Regions from separate parts of the Homo sapiens genome. Here regions 1 and 2 are each linked to region 3. The links are contacts of gene promoters, found by promoter capture Hi-C in human tissues and cell types (Jung and others, 2019). All regions are on one chromosome and are shown on one strand. Each heading gives the region's core, a stretch centred on a gene start or on the middle of the fragment in contact. The rest is flanking DNA. Distances are from core to core; before and after follow the strand shown. Region 1 overlaps ARID1B (AT-rich interaction domain 1B). Region 2 overlaps ARID1B (AT-rich interaction domain 1B). Region 3 holds the start of CLDN20 (claudin 20).

Region 1 (3,118 bases), core at 614-3,113, 1.6 Mb before region 3:
TGATACAATTTTAAACTGTTACTACTTTCACCAGCCAAGACATTGTTTGGACTTAACATGATAGAAATTAAACGACAGTACATTTGTTTGCCCAAACAATATACTGATTTTACATAACCTGAGCCGCCTTCATAATTAAGTGTACAAACATGTATGTTGATATATTTGTAGTAAAACTAAAATCTAGGGCTAAGAATTCATTTTCTCATAATTATTTAAATTAGAATTTATGCCTGATAAAAATAAAATGTGATTATTTTCTAGATTTTCTTGAAAAAGGTAAAACTTTTTATGGAAGTATGAAAATCAAGGCTGAGTTGGTGATTTCAAAATCAGCCAAGTGAATGAAGGACCTATGGAGAGGCTGAGTAAATCAAATTTCAGGCTGAATTTCCAATACGGGGCCCTGAGGCAGTCCTATCTTCACATTCAATCTAGACAGCCCAGGGCACAGGAAACGTCTACTTATTTCACTTCAAATAGTGCACGACCAAAACTGCCTTAATTAAAGCAGAAATGTTAAATGGGAAAATGATTGGAATGTCTATGTTTTAATGCTATAGATAACAGTGCAGCAAATTCATCTTATCAGTGACTAAAATTGTTTTGTATTATCTGTCTCATCACTGCCATCAACTCTCACAGTCCTACTTAAAATTCAGTTAATTTGCACCATGTCAAAAATGTTAGCTTAACCCTCAGATTTCTGAAAATCGAAAGCATTAAATACACAGATTATCTGAACCTCTCAAAATGCATCAAATATCTTTCAATGAGACTTCAGATAGAAAAACAGTTACTCATACAGTGCAAATTATTTAATTTTAACTTCTCCTTATGGTCTATTATTAAATATTCATCCACAGTCCAAATCCATCCTGCTGTGTCCTCTATTTTTGAGCATTAAAAATGTACAACTGAGGGTCTCAACTCCTGCTTCTCACTACCAGTCCCTTAAAGAAACTAAAAATTGGCCAAGTGCGGCGGCTCACGCCTGTAATCCCAGCACTTCGGGAGGCTGAGGCAGGTGGATTGCCTGAGCTCAGGAGTTCAAGACCAGCCTGAGCAACACGGTGAAATCCTGTCTCCACTAAAATACAAAAAATTAGCCAGGCATGGTGGCGGGCACCTGTAATCCCAGCTACTCAGAAGGCTGAGGCAGGAGAACTGCTTGAACCTGTGAGGCAGAGGTTGCAGTGAGCCAAGATCGTGCCACTGCACACTCCACCCTGGGTGACAGAGCAAGACTCCATCTCAAAGAAAAAAAAAAAAATCAAATCTAAGACTTCTGGAAAACAAAAGGGCCAAGCTGCTTCTCATACGCACATCTAACCTGAAGCAATTTTATGTTTTTTGTTTTGTTTTGTTTTCTGAGACAGGGTCTCGCTCTGTCACCCAGACTGGAGTGCAGTGGCACAATCTCAGCTCACTGCAACCTCCACCTCCCGGGTTCAAGTGATTCTCATGTCTCAGCCTCCCAAGTAGCTGGGATTACAGGCACATACCACCACACCCAGCTTATTTTTGTATTTTTTGTAGAGACAGGATTTTGCCTTGTTGGCAAGGCTGGTCTCGAACTCCTGACCTCAAGTGATTCGCCTGCCTCGACCTCCCAAAGTGCTGGGATTACAGGCGTGAGCCGCTGCGCCTGGCCAATTTTATGTTTTTTTAACATCTATCCGGGTATGACCATTTTCATTTCTCACTGAAAGTTTATGCTCTATCAGGGTTATCATCCACATCGAAAACAGCCCTCAACAACTTCTCTAAATAGATTGTCCGAGCATGTTTTCATTTCTAGATGGCATTCCACAACTGCTGTAGCTTGAGTTTCAATTCCAGAAAATAAGACAAGTGCTGTGAAGGCCACAATATATACACCACCATTTTCAAAGAGCTCTTAACCTAACCAGTCTGGTTTTAGTTACTTGGCTTTTAATGCAATTTTTTTACTTGATAAGACTTTCCTCCTCCTTATTCAAAGTAAACTTTTGGATGTACATGTAAGTAGGAGTTATTCTCTCTCTCTCTAAGGAAGAAATACATTGTCTATTTTTAAGAAATGTTTGTATATAGATTCTTCTAAGCATATTGGGTAGCACAATTCAGCTATATTACATGTCAGATAGGCTTTCAGAGGCTGGGCTGGGAATCCAACTGTCCTTTTCAAGATGATCCAAGTTAAAGGACAACTTGCTTATATACTTTTAGTATACTTTAAATATACTTTATCCTTTTTATATTTAGATACTCTGTTATCAGGCTTTCAGAGTATCCCTACACATGCATTTATAGTAAAAGATATCTAATTGTATTTGCTCCTAAATATCAAATTAAGAACACAGTTTATTAGATACATCTTTATGCATATCATATTTTACTACTTTTTTCAGCCCAATTCCTTCAACCGCAAATTGGAAAAACACTTCACAAAAAAAAAAAAAAAAACAACAAAGAAAACCCACCGAAAGAACTATCGAATCTTGTTGATCTAAAATCATTTCTACACATGTGGATTAAACAAGAGCTGATAGAAAACTCTTCCCTCTTTTGAACCATTGTTCGGGAAACAACATTCTCTTACCAGTAACTAAAGAAAACTTTTGAAATCTGTTCTATTTCTCTCGCTCAAACAGGGCAGGGGGTGTTTATTCACGTCTGCAGCTGTGTACCGAATGGCACTGCCCAGCAAGGAAGTAGGGGCTCTGGATTCAGAATGGATTCACAGCCCTGTCCCACCAGGGACCTCGAGTACACTGTGACCTTATTTCTTAGTTTTCTCATTCACTAAAGGAGAAATAAAACCCACCTTGCAATTATTATGAACATTAAATTCATCAGCGCTATAAAGGCTCTCAGAGGTCACAGGGGCTATGGCAGCACCTGGAGCCCAGGGCCCACCTACTCATTGAGAAAAAATGGAACAGCCCAACTGTGCAAAAGTAAAGAATCCATGGCCCGGCCGTAACACACCAACACAGCGGACTACACACGGGCATAGAGAAGACATGTCAGGTAACGTGCCATTTCTTCAATACTGATGCACACAGATCACAGCCATGTGAAACAAGCTCGATAAGGATCGGGGTCAGCCACAGTGGCCTGTAGATAGTTGCTG
Region 2 (2,940 bases), core at 128-2,627, 1.7 Mb before region 3:
CCTGGCTAAATTTTGTGTTTTTAGTAGAGATGGGGTGTCACCATCTTGGTCAGGCTGGTCTTGAACTCCTGACCTCATGATCCACCCATCTCAGCCTATGCTGGGATTACAGGCGTGAGCCACTGTGCCAGGCCTTTCTTTTTTTTCTTTTTTTTTTTTTGAGACAGGGTCTCACTCTGTTGCCCGGACTGGAGTGCAGTTGTGCAATCTCGGCTCACTGCAACCTCCACCTCCCAGGCTCAAGCCATTCTCCTGCCTCAGCCTCCAGAGTAGCTGGGATTACAGGCACGCACCACTACCAATCAGCCCTTTAATGCACCTCACTCTTAAATAGGAACAAAGATTCTCACACTTTTGAGGAAGCCTCCTGCCTAAAACAGATTGTAAAAAGTAAAAAGGGTAATTCAGAAGAAACAGATAATGCAAGGAATAGAAGAAACATTGTAAAAAATAATAACATGCTGCTTGAGAGAGGAAAAGTGATTGCATACAGGAAATAAAGAATGCTATTAAAAAAGGAACTATGTATAAAGAAAAACACTTTGAATTAAAAAATATAAAGAGAAAAACAAGATAATTTAACAGTCAGATTGGCAGATAGAGTCAAGGTTATCTCCCACGCAGAAAACAGTAACAGAAAAGAAAAATCAGTGAAGGAAAGAAAAGATCAATAAATCCAGTATATCCAACACCCAGGAGCACCAGAATAAGAAAGCAGATTAAGGGAGAGAAAGAAATTACCAAATAACTATATAAGATAATTGCCCCAAAATGAAGAACAGTACATACTTAGTGCCCAGCACAATGAAGTACAAAAAAAAAAAAAAAAGACCCATAGAGACACACAGCACTATTTCGGGCATCACAGGCGAAAACCCTAACAGTTTCCAGGATCACACAGAAAGAAAGGGCAACGTCACAATGGCATCTAATTTCTCCACAGCAACAGGAAACATCAGAAAGCAGTAATAGCAGAAGTCAGAAGCTTTTATCTTTTAATTCTTAGAGAAAATTATTTCCATGCAGGATTGCTATATGTAGTCAATCAATTTAAATATGAGGGTATATAGTAAAGGTGTTTTGAAACATGCAAGGTCTAAAAAATTTACCTCCCATTCACATTTTCTCAAGAAGCTACTGAAAGATGTGCGCAGTCAAAATGGTAAGTGATCTAGGAAACGGGAGATCCACACATGAGGCAAACAGAAGAGTCACAAAAAAAAAAAAAGAGACATCCCAGGAGATGGCTGTACACATCTATCTCCTGCGTTAACAACCACTCCAAATTGTGGTGAAGACTATGGAAATCCAGAAGGGATGTCTCTTAAGAAAAAATACTGGAGCTGAAAAACTTCTCTGGCAGGTATGACCGCATGAAGACTGCACTGCCCAGTTGTTGGAGGGCACAGGAAGGCCCAGTCAGATGTTCAAAGAAAAGCATGTGAAAAAAAAACGAGGTAATGAACTCCAAGCAAAACTAAGTTATTATAGTATTACAGTATAAGTATAGTATAATGCAATATTTAGCTTAGTGAACAAGAGTTAAGAAGACATAATAACATAAACAGTAATGCAGTCTTAACCAAAACCTGATGGGATTAGATGGGTAGGACATTGAAGAGTGGGAAAGACACAGTGTACAGCAAGCTACAATCCTCATCTAATAGGAAGCCAGTAAATGATGCCAAACTGAGGAATTTAAAAGATAATATATAGCAATGATTGCATGTATATGTACATTTCTAAAGAAATATACATGTAACAAGACAATTTCATTTGATTTTCATCATCTATAAATTCATCATACATTCCTAAATTTTGTCTATTTTTGAAAACTTAGATGACCTGGGTTACAGTTTATCCTAGGAGAAAAGGATATATGTGCCTTAACTCCTTTTTGTTTCTGAATGCTTAATTCTATATACTCGATGTGAAGAACGGCAGAGACTCTCCATTGCCTGATCCAGCTACCTAGGTGGTTAATAATCCCCTATGCTCTACTTCACTACCACCCCTCAAAAGAAAGACATCAATCATCCATCCTGCCCACAGGTCATGTGGACCTGGAGCAATCTTAGAGGAAGAGACTAAGTCAGTGCTTTCTAACAGTCACACCAGCACTGCTCACCCTCAGAAGTAGACAAGGGAGGACAGTGGCTACAAGTCTCAAGAAATGAAATACCTTTCCAGTTTTTGCTAAGTCATGAGTTAAACCAACAAAAACAGTGGCTTCACTTACCTGCCATGATTACACAGATGTTTATGCTACAATGTAAACAACAAAATAAACACTAACTAGATTTATCATGAAATTGTTTCTTCCAACAAGTGAAAATGACTTAATTTCTGTGACCCTCCCTAAAATAATAAAAGATTTTCCCTAAAAATATAAACCAGTATCTGTGTATTCTTCTGTATGTCAAGGGCTCTTCACTGCCTCAGGCTGAAATCTGAGCTCCTGGGTACATTGAAAGCTGCCAGCCTTTCCCCAGACTGCCGGGTTCCGGGCTGCTGCACGGGTCCCTCCACTGTCTCAAAGGCCGTCCCTCCACTCCAGGGATCCCTGCTCAGGCTCCTGCAGATCCTCAGCCACAACAGTGCAGGCGATTTTACACGGCACTGTCTACGAGTAGCCCTGCCACTAAACCGGACTCCTCCTACGGGAAAAGCACTGCGTGGTTTCATCTCTGTATCCCCAATGACTGGCACATTGACTGGCACACAGAAAGGAGCTCAATGATTCTTATTTTGTTTTGTTTTGTTTTGTTTTTGAGATGTAGGTTGGCTCTTGTCGCCCAGGCTGGAGTGCAATGGCATGATCTCGGCTCACTGCTACCTCCACCTCCCAGGTTCAGGCAATTCTCTTGCCTCAACCTCCTGAGTAGCTGGGATTACAGGCGCCCACCACCACGCCCGGCTAATTTTTGTATTTTTAGTAGA
Region 3 (3,251 bases), core at 682-3,181:
CGTGCTGGATGCTTCCTATCCTCAAACATTGGACTCCCAAGTTCTTCAGTTTTGGAACTTGGACTGGCTCTCCTTGCTTCTCAGCCTGCAGATGGCCTATTGTGGGACCTTGTGATCATGTGAGTTAATACTTAATAAACTCTTCTTTATATATATATTTAATATTTACATATTATATATTAAATATATATTATATATTATATATAATATATATTTATATTATATATAAATATATTTAATATTTATATTTAATAAACTCATATATATATATTCCATTAGTTCTGTCCCTCTAGAGAACCCTAATACAAATGTTTTTTCTTCTTTGCTTTCCATTCAATCTTGAAAATAATGACAGTTCAGAGTAAGATAAAATAGTTACCTGTTCCAGCCCTACAAATTTAAAGTGATTTGACCTAATCCTAAAATAATGTTCTTCTTCTGTCCCAGCCTTAGGAAATTAACAGTATCAGCTATGAATATACGAATGTACTGACCAAGCATCTTCAGTGTGATGTCTAGTCCGTTTGATAATTATGGTTTATTATGAATTACTATATTTGTATGCATGTTCTATTTCTCAGTCTTTTAATAATATTACTAGCAGCATTTATCAAGTGCCTTCTGAGTTTGTTTAGATTGAGAGCCTCTCTGAGGTCCTGTCTTCTCTCTGAGGGACGGGAGTTGCTCAGGACCTGCAGCGCTGGGGTCCAGACCCTGGCAGTTGCCAATGTGCTGCCACACCCATGGCCCGGCTGGGCAGCCTCGAAGCTGCCTCAGGCAGCTCCTGCCACATCCACAAACCCAAGCGGGAGCACAGCCCGGGACAGGAAACACAGGGCACGTCCAGATGCTGCTGCTTCACAGACACCAAGGGCGTGGTTTGTGGAAAAGGCCTAGTTTTAGGAAGGTCTTTTCCCTCTGATCATCCAGGAACTCCAGATTAAATGTAACAGAAAACCTTTATACAACAATTGTCAGTTCTTGTTCCATTTGTGCTTTCTTGAGGATTACACGTGCATCTCCCTGAAATTGTTTAATCTCTTGGGACCAAGAGACACTGACTCATCTTGTTGTTGTTATTACTAATAGGTGTAATTTACATACATACATATGTACATTTACATAATTTACACAGTAAAAAAACTCTTCATCCCCCTCACCACATTTCTTAGTCTTATTTCTCTTGTGATCTGAGTTTGCTGTCATTCTCTTGGCCTCAGTTCTTCCTACCACATCTGCTCTGAGAGGAAACACTATGTGACTGTTTAAAATCTGTTCTTTTTTTATGATCCCAAGAAGAAAGAGAAAAAAACAAAGATCTGTAGGAAGAAAAAAGGGTGAGGACAGAACTTCTGCAGAAATAAATATTGTTACAATAACACAAATTGTAAACTTTAGGATAGGTACTGACCGTGTAGTTGATCTTTATTGAACCAGTTGGTTTGAAATACTTAGAATGCTGTCAGCTTTAAGGTTTTACAGTGGAAATTCTTTCCTTAAATTGGCTTTTGGACATGGATCACAGGTAGAGTGAACCAATTCCAGAAAATGTGATCTACATTCACATTTGTCAGTATTTTCTTTTTCTATGACATGCATAATTATCATATCACAGGCATCAGTGACTTGCTGCCTCTACCTGGGATTCTCCTTACCTGGGAAAGTTGTAACCTCGAGGCCCGTGATGTCCTAAAGTGGACTGTCATTAGCTTGGTGGAGGTACTTGAAGAGCAAGCAGACACTGGAGGGTGGGGAAACCAAGCATCCGGAGGCACTCATCTTGCTCCGTTGTTTTACCCGACAGTGAAGTGGCTCTCCCAAGCCCCTGTCCTCCTGCGTTCCATTTTGTGGTGCCTATAGCCTGCAAGATGCCATATGCTTCCTGTTCCCAACCACCCAGGTCTGCCCGTGATCATCCCACTTCGAACTTTGAATCCTTCTTATATGTTGTTCTTTAAAGTCTTACTGATTATTCCCTGTGGTCTTTTTTTTTTTTTTCACTAGCCCTTCTGTTGTCTTAAGTTATGGCTGTGTCTTGGCTATTTACATAGTAACTTCCTCATCATTTTTTCATCTCCACTATCTTGTCCTCTAATGGTCTTGAACACCGTGAGAGTGTTGAATGAAGACCCTTTTGTAGACAGTGGCCAGCATTGTTTCTGTGTCTGTGCATGTGGTCGTGACTTAGCTTTTGGGCATATGATAATCATCAGGAACTGAGTTGTACGTCTCTTCAGTGTCCTCTGTATATCATGTTGATTACAGTTCTCAGTTGTAATATCTAATATCTAAGATTTAAGATTTAATATCTCCTTAGCCCGGGTCCCTTGTGAGTTCCAAGTGCTGCTCTGAGCTGATAACCAGTCACGTCCTAGACACCCTGGCCTGGAAACTAGGACATCTGCCTCGGGCCTGTTATGGCCAAGGCTGCTAACACTGAGAAACAGTCTTAGCTTGTTACAGCGTTGACGTATAGGGTTAGAAAGGCAAATATTTAAATTCATTTTAAATCCTTTCATTTGAAATTTTAGTAGGTCATTTTGGTATACTGATGGACTGAGTTTGGAAAAGGCTGGCGGCATTAAACTAGAATATTTTAAGTACTTCTGATGCCTTTGTACTGATTTCTTTTTTGTAATCAAACCCATTAATAGACTTAAAACTCAAGGAAGAAAAAATAATACTTGTAATTTTAAATAAGCATTCAATTATAAGTAAAAAACATTTTTGTATTCGTTACCATAGTTACCAAGCAGCTTTCCTATAGTTCTAGAAAAAAATGGGCTCCATCATTCAGAGTAATTCTGAAAGGTGCCTTTGGGGGAAAGGGAGAGGAAGGGGTGGTACAGGAGAGGTCCTGGCCGTCCCAGAAGCAGGAGACATAACTGGAAGAGCTTTGTTGACGCTGAGTTTTACAGAATCTCCCACTAAATAGTAACTGCATTTGTGAGGGGAATTCTCTTTTAGCCGTGACATAATATAAGCCAACTTAACAGAGTATTGGAATTGTATTCAAACTTTAGAAGTCGACGCTATAGTTTACATGGGGTACTACTATATTTGTTCAGGGTTTTAAAACTTTATTTAAATCAAGCAAAAGTTAGACACTTCCTGTATTTGCAAATACCAACTATATCTCAAAGGAATGAAATCAGGCAAATAAAGATGAGGCCAAAATTTAAAATCTAAGGAAGCTGAAAGTGGCAGTTTCTGTACTGGAAGAGAGTGCATCTATCTCTGTATTTGTGCTT

Evidence for each region. The method cuts DNA at HindIII sites, captures the fragments that hold promoters and counts their contacts. A contact is called where the count stands out against the background at its distance.
Region 1: a contact is called between a fragment that was not itself captured here and the fragment with the promoter of CLDN20 in region 3, in 1 of the 25 tissues and cell types used here (dorsolateral prefrontal cortex).
Region 2: a fragment that was not itself captured here is called in contact with the fragment with the promoter of CLDN20 in region 3 in 1 of the 25 tissues and cell types used here (dorsolateral prefrontal cortex).

What each region holds. Positions count from the first base shown.
Region 1 is chr6:156,823,019-156,826,136 of GRCh38, reverse strand. All of the region lies in intron 1 of ARID1B (AT-rich interaction domain 1B), which reads right to left. Among named protein-coding and RNA genes, the nearest start is that of MIR4466, 45 kb to the right of the region's middle. The HindIII fragment of the contact is 7,679 bases long and covers 1-3,118 here.
Region 2 is chr6:156,980,315-156,983,254 of GRCh38, reverse strand. The region is part of intron 4 of ARID1B (AT-rich interaction domain 1B); the gene reads right to left. Among named protein-coding and RNA genes, the nearest start is that of MIR4466, 200 kb to the right of the region's middle. The HindIII fragment of the contact is 3,613 bases long and covers 1-2,940 here.
Region 3 is chr6:155,262,693-155,265,943 of GRCh38, reverse strand. It overlaps CLDN20 (claudin 20), which reads right to left and starts at 1,931. Exons shown (of 2, transcript NM_001001346.3): 1 at 1,656-1,931. All of the region lies in intron 5 of TFB1M (transcription factor B1, mitochondrial), which reads left to right. The HindIII fragment of the contact is 11,103 bases long and covers 1-3,251 here.